Regions from separate parts of the Homo sapiens genome. Here region 1 is linked to region 2. The links are contacts of gene promoters, found by promoter capture Hi-C in human tissues and cell types (Jung and others, 2019). All regions are on one chromosome and are shown on one strand. The core of a region is centred on a gene start or on the middle of the fragment in contact, and the rest is flanking DNA. Distances in the headings are between cores, read along the strand shown.

The links. Contacts are between HindIII fragments. The study calls those that stand out against the background at their distance.
Region 1: a fragment that was not itself captured here is called in contact with the fragment with the promoter of ASH1L in region 2 in 2 of the 25 tissues and cell types used here (liver and lymphoblastoid cells).

The regions. Positions count from the first base shown.
Region 1 is chr1:155,775,134-155,778,857 of GRCh38, forward strand. GON4L (gon-4 like) reads right to left here. Exons shown (of 32, transcript NM_001282860.2): 15 at 2,489-2,687; 16 at 1,262-1,348; 17 at 1-40. Among named protein-coding and RNA genes, the nearest start is that of GON4L, 80 kb to the right of the region's middle. The HindIII fragment of the contact is 9,147 bases long and covers 1-3,724 here.
Region 2 is chr1:155,560,402-155,564,540 of GRCh38, forward strand. It overlaps ASH1L (ASH1 like histone lysine methyltransferase), which reads right to left and starts at 2,402. Exons shown (of 28, transcript NM_018489.3): 1 at 1,752-2,402. ASH1L-AS1 (ASH1L antisense RNA 1) reads left to right here and starts at 1,641. Exons shown (of 2, transcript NR_147964.1): 1 at 1,641-1,885; 2 at 2,849-3,543. It also overlaps a transcript of MSTO1 not described here. RefSeq lists silencers at 177-471, 2,193-2,342, 2,393-2,532, 3,617-3,911 and an enhancer at 2,421-2,988. The HindIII fragment of the contact is 36,648 bases long and covers 1-4,139 here.

The DNA.
Region 1 (3,724 bases), core at 654-3,153, 210 kb after region 2:
GAAGGGCGATGGAGCTTTGAGCAAAGGTTCCCAGCTCTTTCTGGGAAAACAGGACACAAGAAAGATTTAAGACAATTCCAGACAATTAATACCAGTAGCCTTCAGAATCTAAATGAGAAGCTGACCTTCCTACTACAGGATAAAAACAGGTAAAAATCATCATAAAGTCTTTCACAATAAACTACTCTGTTAAGATTATGCCTGAGTTCCCAGATATTCAGGGATTGTATTCTTGTTTTACTTTTAGACTTAGTGAGAAACACTAAGGAATATATGGTCTAGCTCCTGAACTAGAAGTAAGATTATGAAGAATGAGGACTCATTTTTTTTTTTTTTTTCGAGACGGAGTTTCGCTCTGTCGCCCAGGCTGGAGCGTAGTGGTGCGATCTTGACTCACTGAAGTCTCCACTTCCTGGGCTCAAGCGATTCTTCTCCATCTACCTCCCGAGTAGCTGGGATTAATTACAGGCGCCCGCTACCACGCCCGGCTATTTTTTGTATTTTAAGTAGAGACTGGATTTCACCATGTTGGTCAAGCTGTTCTCGAACTCCTGACCTCAAGTGATCCAGCCACCTCAGCCTACCAAAGTGCTGAGATTACAGGCACAAGTCACCGCACCCAGCCAAGAATTAGGACTATTACTTTTATTTTATTTATTTATTTATTTTGAGACTGGGTCTCACTCTGCTGCCCAGGCTTGAGTGCAGTGGCGCGATCTCAGCTCACTGTAACCCTCACCTCCTAGGCTCAAGCTATCCTTCCACCTCTGCCTCCCAAGTAGCTGAGACTACAGGTACGCACCACCACATCTGGTTAATTTTTGTATTTTGTAGAGACGGGCTTTCGGCATGTTGCCCCAGCTAGTCTGGAACTACTGGGGTCATATAATCTGCCTGCTTTGGCTTCTCAAAGTGCTGGGATTACAGGCATAGCCACCGTGCCCAGTCTCAACATCTATAAAACGAACAGTGGTACCAAAAACCTAAGAAGTTAGGTTGGATCTAAAGATGAGGAGGATTCAATAAAAATATCAGAAAGACAGTATTAAGAAAATTGAATACACTCCTTGTCCTTTCATGGGAATCAGTGGCTTACGTTCTCTCAGCAAACACAGGAAGCCTTAACAGAAAGCAGGCAAAACAATCAAAAATACCCGAGAGAAGAATAAATATAGATTATGATCAGTGAATAACTGAGAAATAACCTGCCAAGCTAATTTCATACTCTAGTCTTTAGAGTTATGGATATTTGGAAACTTACAAGAAATATCCTGGTGGTAGTGGCCTCCGGATTGAGGTTGGGGTTGCAGGTGGCAAGAAGGTGGATTTGGGTCAAGAGCTGAACGTGCTGGGGATGGAAAGAAAATGATGAAGTGACATGTTACCACATTGTCATTTCAGGAATCCAGAGAGATCTTTTTTTTTTTTCTTCTTGGAGAAAGGATCTCTCTCTGTCACTCAGGCTGATGTGCAGTGATGCAATCATGGCTCCACGCCCTCTCAACTTCCTGTGCTCAAGCAATCCTCCCACCTCAGCCTCCTGAGTAGCTGGGACCACAGATGCATGGCACCATGCCTGGCTAATTTATTTTTATTTTTTGCAGAGACAGGGTCTCACTATGTTGCTCAGGTTGCTCTCGAACTCCCTGGCTCAAGCAATCCTCCCACCTCAGCCTCCCAAAGTGCTGGGATTACAGGTGTGAGCCACCGTAACCCAGCCCCCAGAGAGACAATAACCAAGATGTTTGCAACTTTATCACATATATTTTGCTTTCTGAAAGGAGTATGAAAATAACATAGGATCTTGGCATAAATCTCTCAGACATGTTCCCTTGAACAAAATGACAGAACCAGAGGAAGCTTAACCTCAATCCAGAGGGACTGAGGTTAGAAAAAGGAAAAACAAACCTACTTCTCACAGTGAAGGTTGTTAAATTTCAGAATAGATTACTAAGGACTCTTTGAAATCTATATTTCTGAATACCATTAGTGTCCTTGTGTGCTCTCTTCCTTGAGCCATAAGGCATGAACATGATGACTTCTCGAGCTCCTAATGATGTGAAGATACTATGGTTTTAGGAGGTGGTAAGGTAACTATCTCTGACTTTTACAAAGCTGTTAATTTCTGGCCTCAGAGTTAGGCCTTGGTATAATCCAGTATTAACAGCAGGGCGCAGTGGCTCACGCCTGTAATCCCAGCACTTTAGGAGGCCGAGGCGGGCGGATCACAAGGTCAGGAGTTCGAGACCAGCCTGGCCAATATGGTGAAACCCTGTCTCTACTAAAAATACAAAAATTAGCTGGGTGTGGTGGTGGATGCCTGTAATCCCAGCTACTTGGGAGGCTGAGGCAGGAGAAATGCTTGAGCCCAGAAAGCAGAGGTTGAAGTGAGCCGATATCGGGCCACTGCACTCCAGGCTGGGAGACAGAGCCAGACTCTGTCTCAAAAAAAAAAATCCAATGTTAACATGACCAAGAAAAGTCCTACCTGCTGCATCTGCTGCTGGAGTCTCTTCCTCTGTGCTGGGTCCAGAATCAGAGTCTGATGAACTTTCTCACTCTGGGGTTTAACCTTCTCTACTTCCTGCAGCTGTTTGGCTGAAGATTTCTTCATCTTCAGCTGTTCAAATAGCTCCTTCACTGTCCGATGTTGTTCATTTAACAGGTTGGCCAGTGGTTCCTCAAACCTATTCCCAACAGGGAGATGACTGAATTTGAGTGTTTCCGTAGGTCCACAACACATCCAATTCGTTCCAATGATGAGCAAAGAGCCTGAACAATTTTCATTCCCTACTAATCCCCCATCTCACTTTAGCCAACAGTCAAACTCTCAGCCTTTTACAAATCTTTTGCCAAAGTAGTTAGCATGCATCAAATATGATGATTCTATATTACACTCTATCCCATTCCTCTAAAATTCCTCTTCTAAATAATATACAAATAAAGAAAAAATTAAAATGCTAGGAACAGAGAAATATCTGGATAAGAAAGCAGCCAAGGAGCTGGTGGGAACTCATCATTCTCATTTCTTCTCTCATTTACTTGTTACTCCCATCCCAGGTTCAGCTTGTCCCATTTCCCTATCCACTCAGGCTGCACTGCCTTGCATTTTTTTTTCAAAATTTAAATATTTTTTGAGACACAGTCTCGCTCTGTCGCCCAGGCTGGAGTGCAGTGGCACGATCTCAGCTCACTGCAACCTCCGCCTCCAGGGTTCAAGCAATTCTCCTGCCTCACCCTCCCAAGTAGCTGGGACTATAGGCACGTGCCACCACGCCCAGCTAATTTTTTGTATTTTTAGTAGAGATGGGATTTCACTGTGTTAGCCAGGACGGTCTCCATCTCCTGACCTCATGATCCACCCATCTCGGCTTCCCAAAGTGCTGGGATTACAGGCGTAAGCCACCATGCCTAGCCCTCAAAATTTTAATTTTAAGTTTCAGAATACATGTGCAGGACATGGAGGTTTGTTACACAGGTAAACGTGCACCTTGGTGGTTTGCTGCACCTATCAACCCATCACCTTGGTATTAAGTGCAGCTGCATTAGCAGTTTATCCTGATCCTCTCCCTTCCCCCGCTCCCCCAACAGGCCCCAGTGTGTGTTGTTCCCCACCCTGTGCCCATGTGTTCTCATTGTTCAGCTCCTACTTATAAGTGAGAACATGCAGTGTTGTTTTTCTGTTCTTACGTTAGCTTGCTGATGGCTTCACCTCCATCCATGT
Region 2 (4,139 bases), core at 1,152-3,651:
TTCATAGAGGGGATTCTTACTATATGAAATGAGTCTTTCAAAGGATTCCTTCAGCCCAGCCAAGAAGTTCCAACATCCACAGGCACATGTATTAACAATTACCAGAACCCAAAAACAGTTCTCTGGTTTTAATTCCACACCGCCTCCCTCAACTTAATACCCACCACTGTCAAAACAACTCCCCTCACGTTGTACCCAGGCTATTTACAGAGACACCTTGATTATCCTCACGCCAAGGCATGGACCATTTATTGAACAGGCAGTCAACAAATATTTGTTGAATGAATGAAAAAGGATCCTTCCTCCCACAGATTTCAAGTTAAGCTGTCAGCACCCATGCAGCTGCTCTGGTACAAGTTAAGCTGTGAAAGCCTTCTCTCCCTCACACATACAACCTCAAGTGTCAGAAATGCTCTGCTTCCTCCATAAATCCAAAATAATATAGTCATGGATATGCATTTCATACAGGTCAGACTCGGCAAGGACAGCTACGTTCCACATACATATCTGACACAATCGGTCTCCCCCAAATACAAGCCAACCAGTCTTATGTGCTCCTATCTTTCCAGCATACTCAGATTTGCCGACAAAGACTTCCTGAGGCACCATGGTATGCTGAATATACTGCTGCAGTAGTAGTGAAAATATGGGAGTTACAGTTCCAACTTTGTCACCAATTTAACATGCGGCCTTGGAGAAGTTCTCTCCTTATGCCTAAATTTCCTATTTTGTAAAATGGAAGAAAGCATCCTACCATTTTCACAGAGATTCAGTATCACAAAAAAACTGAAAGAGCTTTCTTATTGTATTGTAAACTATTACTATAAACCCGCGACAACAAATAAGGCCACCCATTCTTTACAACTTTGTAGTAATGATTCTGTTAAAGATATTTTGGCCCTTCACATTTACACAACTCACTCTAACCAAAGGCACAAACTATTCTTAAGACCACAACTGGCTATGCCAAGTTTCTCCCCTCCCTGACCTCACAGACACATGCTGTACAGAACACTACCATTGCCGCTCTTTCCCAACAAGTAACTAGGGGCTCCCAATCCCTAAAATACACACACATATCAACCTGCAAGGAACCTCCCAACATTTATTCAAGAAATAAGCTAACTTATAAGGGGAACTCCATTACACTTACACAAATAAAGGCAAACTCTTACGGAAACACTTGCCATCCTCACATACACACACCAACACAGCCGCTACACACCAACAGACCATCTGTCTGCTAGACCAAAAACATCTCTTTCCATGTACAAACTAACCAGTGACATTTATTAAACTTACAACACTGAGATCATCCTGTCGTTCCCACATACCGTTCAACGCGGCAGGGACACCACAGACCTTGTCACACAGGTAAAATCCCCTCTCAAGATCGTGTCCTCGACCACTCTTATCCCTTAATTAAACACACACAAACTGGACTATGGGGGAGGCTCCGATCATGCCTACAAACACAAACTAACCTGTCAGGGGCACAGCCGACTCCGCCTCCACTCGCTTACTTCCCAGCCCCCTCCGGGAGTCTGCCTGTCAGGGACACCCCTTCACCCCGCCTGGAGGGACTTCCCGGTAGGCTCAGGATCCCCCTCCCTGCTCTCCCCTCCCCCATCTTCACCACTGCTCTCTCAGAGATCCAGGTCCGGGAGATGACAGTGGCTCCCAGAAAGCCCAGGATTCAATCGCTGAGAGAGTGCTTAGGCCCGAATGCCGGCCCAAATCGTTCTACTCACCGTGTCGGAGGCCGAGGCCGAGGCCGAGAGCGATGAGAGTGCAGGGAAGTGGGGAAGAGGGGGTGGCCGCCAGGCTCCTCCGCTTCCCTGGGTCCACGGCGGATCCCTCCCGCTTGTCAGGAGGCGGCCAGCGGGTAAGCTGACTGGCGGAAATGCGAGAGAGGAGAAGGGAAAGGTGGAAGGCTAAAGGGGGCAAACTGAGGGGAGGCGGGTCCCGCAACCGAGACTGGGATCGTCTCCCCTCCGCAAAGCGAACCCAAAATGGCGGCGGGAGCGGCGGCGGCGGCGGCGGCAGCAGCAGAGTGGCGGCGGTGGCGGCGGCAGCTCCTCCAGAGGGAGGGAGCGAAGGGCGCCTAGCGCCCCCCTCAACCTTCCACTCCTTCCTCCTTGCGTTCTTTCCCACCGTCCCCCGCTCCGCCCGACTCCGTCCGCGTAGCGCGCACGCCCGCCCGCACGCGTACGAGTGTCTACGGGCTCGTCGCTGGCTGCTCCCACCAACCACCACCTTCGGCCGCCCCGCGCGCCAGCCAGCCCGTACGCGCTCACCCACAGGAACCCCCTCGTCCAGTCCCTCACTACCCCTCAGGCCCTGTCAAGCCGGCGCCGGCGCAGGCCCTCACGCGTACCTTCAACGGCGCAAGCCCAAGCCTCCTCCTCCTCCTCCTCCACCTCCTCTTCTCTCCTCCCCCCCCTTCCCCGCCCCCACGGCCACCAACCGCCGCCACGGCCGCCGCCGCCGCCGCCAGCCCCCCCTACCACCCTCCACCCCTCGCGCGTGCGCCTCCCACAATCCCCCCCGCGGGACTGTTCCATTCCTGTCGGCTGCAGGGGCAGGAGAGGAAGGGACGGGCCGAGCGGGTCGGGGCTTGCCGTTTGACTGGAATTGCCAGAATGGCGGACCGAGCCCCACGACAACCTACCTCCCTGGGCTCCTCGCCGCAGCGCTGCGGCTCGCCTCCCTCTGCTCCTCCTCCTCCGCCGGATCGCGGCGAGCGGATCGAGGACTGCCTAGCGCCCCTCTGCCCACCGGTGGTTGGAGGCCGCGGCGGCTGCGCGTTGAGTCGTTTCCTGCCGGTTGACCTGAGCCTACTTCGCAGTAGCAGGACCGCTGCTGTGGAGCTGGTCGCAGGCGGTGTGTGCCGGTCGCCTAGTCAGGAGAACTAGTCCTCGACTCACGGTGAGGGAATGGACCGACACGGGTATTGTACCGCTGAGGGAAAGGAGCGGGACTCCGGACCTCCAGGAGGTAGGGAGTGAGGCCAGTAGGACCGGCGCGCCTCCGGGGGGATTCCTCCCGGGCGTTGAGTTGCCAACCTGGGACCCGAGGAAGATCGGCGTGGTGGTGTGCTTTTTGTTGTTGTTAACCCTCCTCGGATTTCTCGAATTTCACACCACTGTCCATATGCGATGATGTTTGTTTGCCCTTGACGCACTTACTCATGGATGGTACTTCTTCAGCCTCGTTAGACAGCCTGGTGATGGAGGATGAAGAAACCATGTGCTTTTCATTCAGTTCTGGACTTAGTCTCCCTTTTCTTCCTTCAGCAAGTTATTTTTGTTAGTTCCTTATCAAAAAGTGTACATAAAAATTAGGCAACTCCAAACATGCCTCCAGGGTTAATGTGTGAAATAATAAGATAATATATGTAAAGTGGAATTAGCTCCTAGGCATAGGGAAAGTGCAGAATATTGCCGTGTTGTCATTTACAGTTCTGTTGATGTCGATAACGTTTGTGGGTGTAATTGGTAGTGTTCTGTCCCTCCAAGGAGTTAATAAAACAAAGCAAACATAGGCCTGTTAGGTTTCTGTGGCTACTGAATATTTGTTTCTCAAAACACTTGACTGATATTTGATAATTGAATGCAGCAGAAATACGGACGATTAAAGTCCACAAATAATTCCAAAGTTTACTTGATCTAGTAGTTTTTACCTTTACCTAAAGGGTAAAGCAGAATAAATTACCGGAAGGATCTACTTGGGTTTCCCTTTCCTTCACATTTGTGGACTCCTGGGGATCCAGGAAGTAATTCAGAAATGACTGTTCAAAAGCCCATGCAAGGCCGGGCGCGGTGGCTAACGCTTGTAATCCCAGCGCTTTGGGAGGCCAAGGTGGGCGGATGACCTGAGGTCAGGAGTTCGAGACCAGCCTGGCCAACATGGCAAAATCCCGTCTCTACTAAAAATACAAAAATTAGCCAGGCGTGGTGGTGGACGCCTGTAATCCCAGCTACTCAGGAGACTGAGGCAGGAGAATCGCTTGAACCTGGGAGGCGGAGATTGCAGTGAGCCGAGATGGTGCCATTGCACTCCAGCCTGGGCAACAAGAGCGAAACTCCATCTGAGGGAAAAAAATAAAAATAAAAAGCCCTTGCAACCTCCAAAATTCA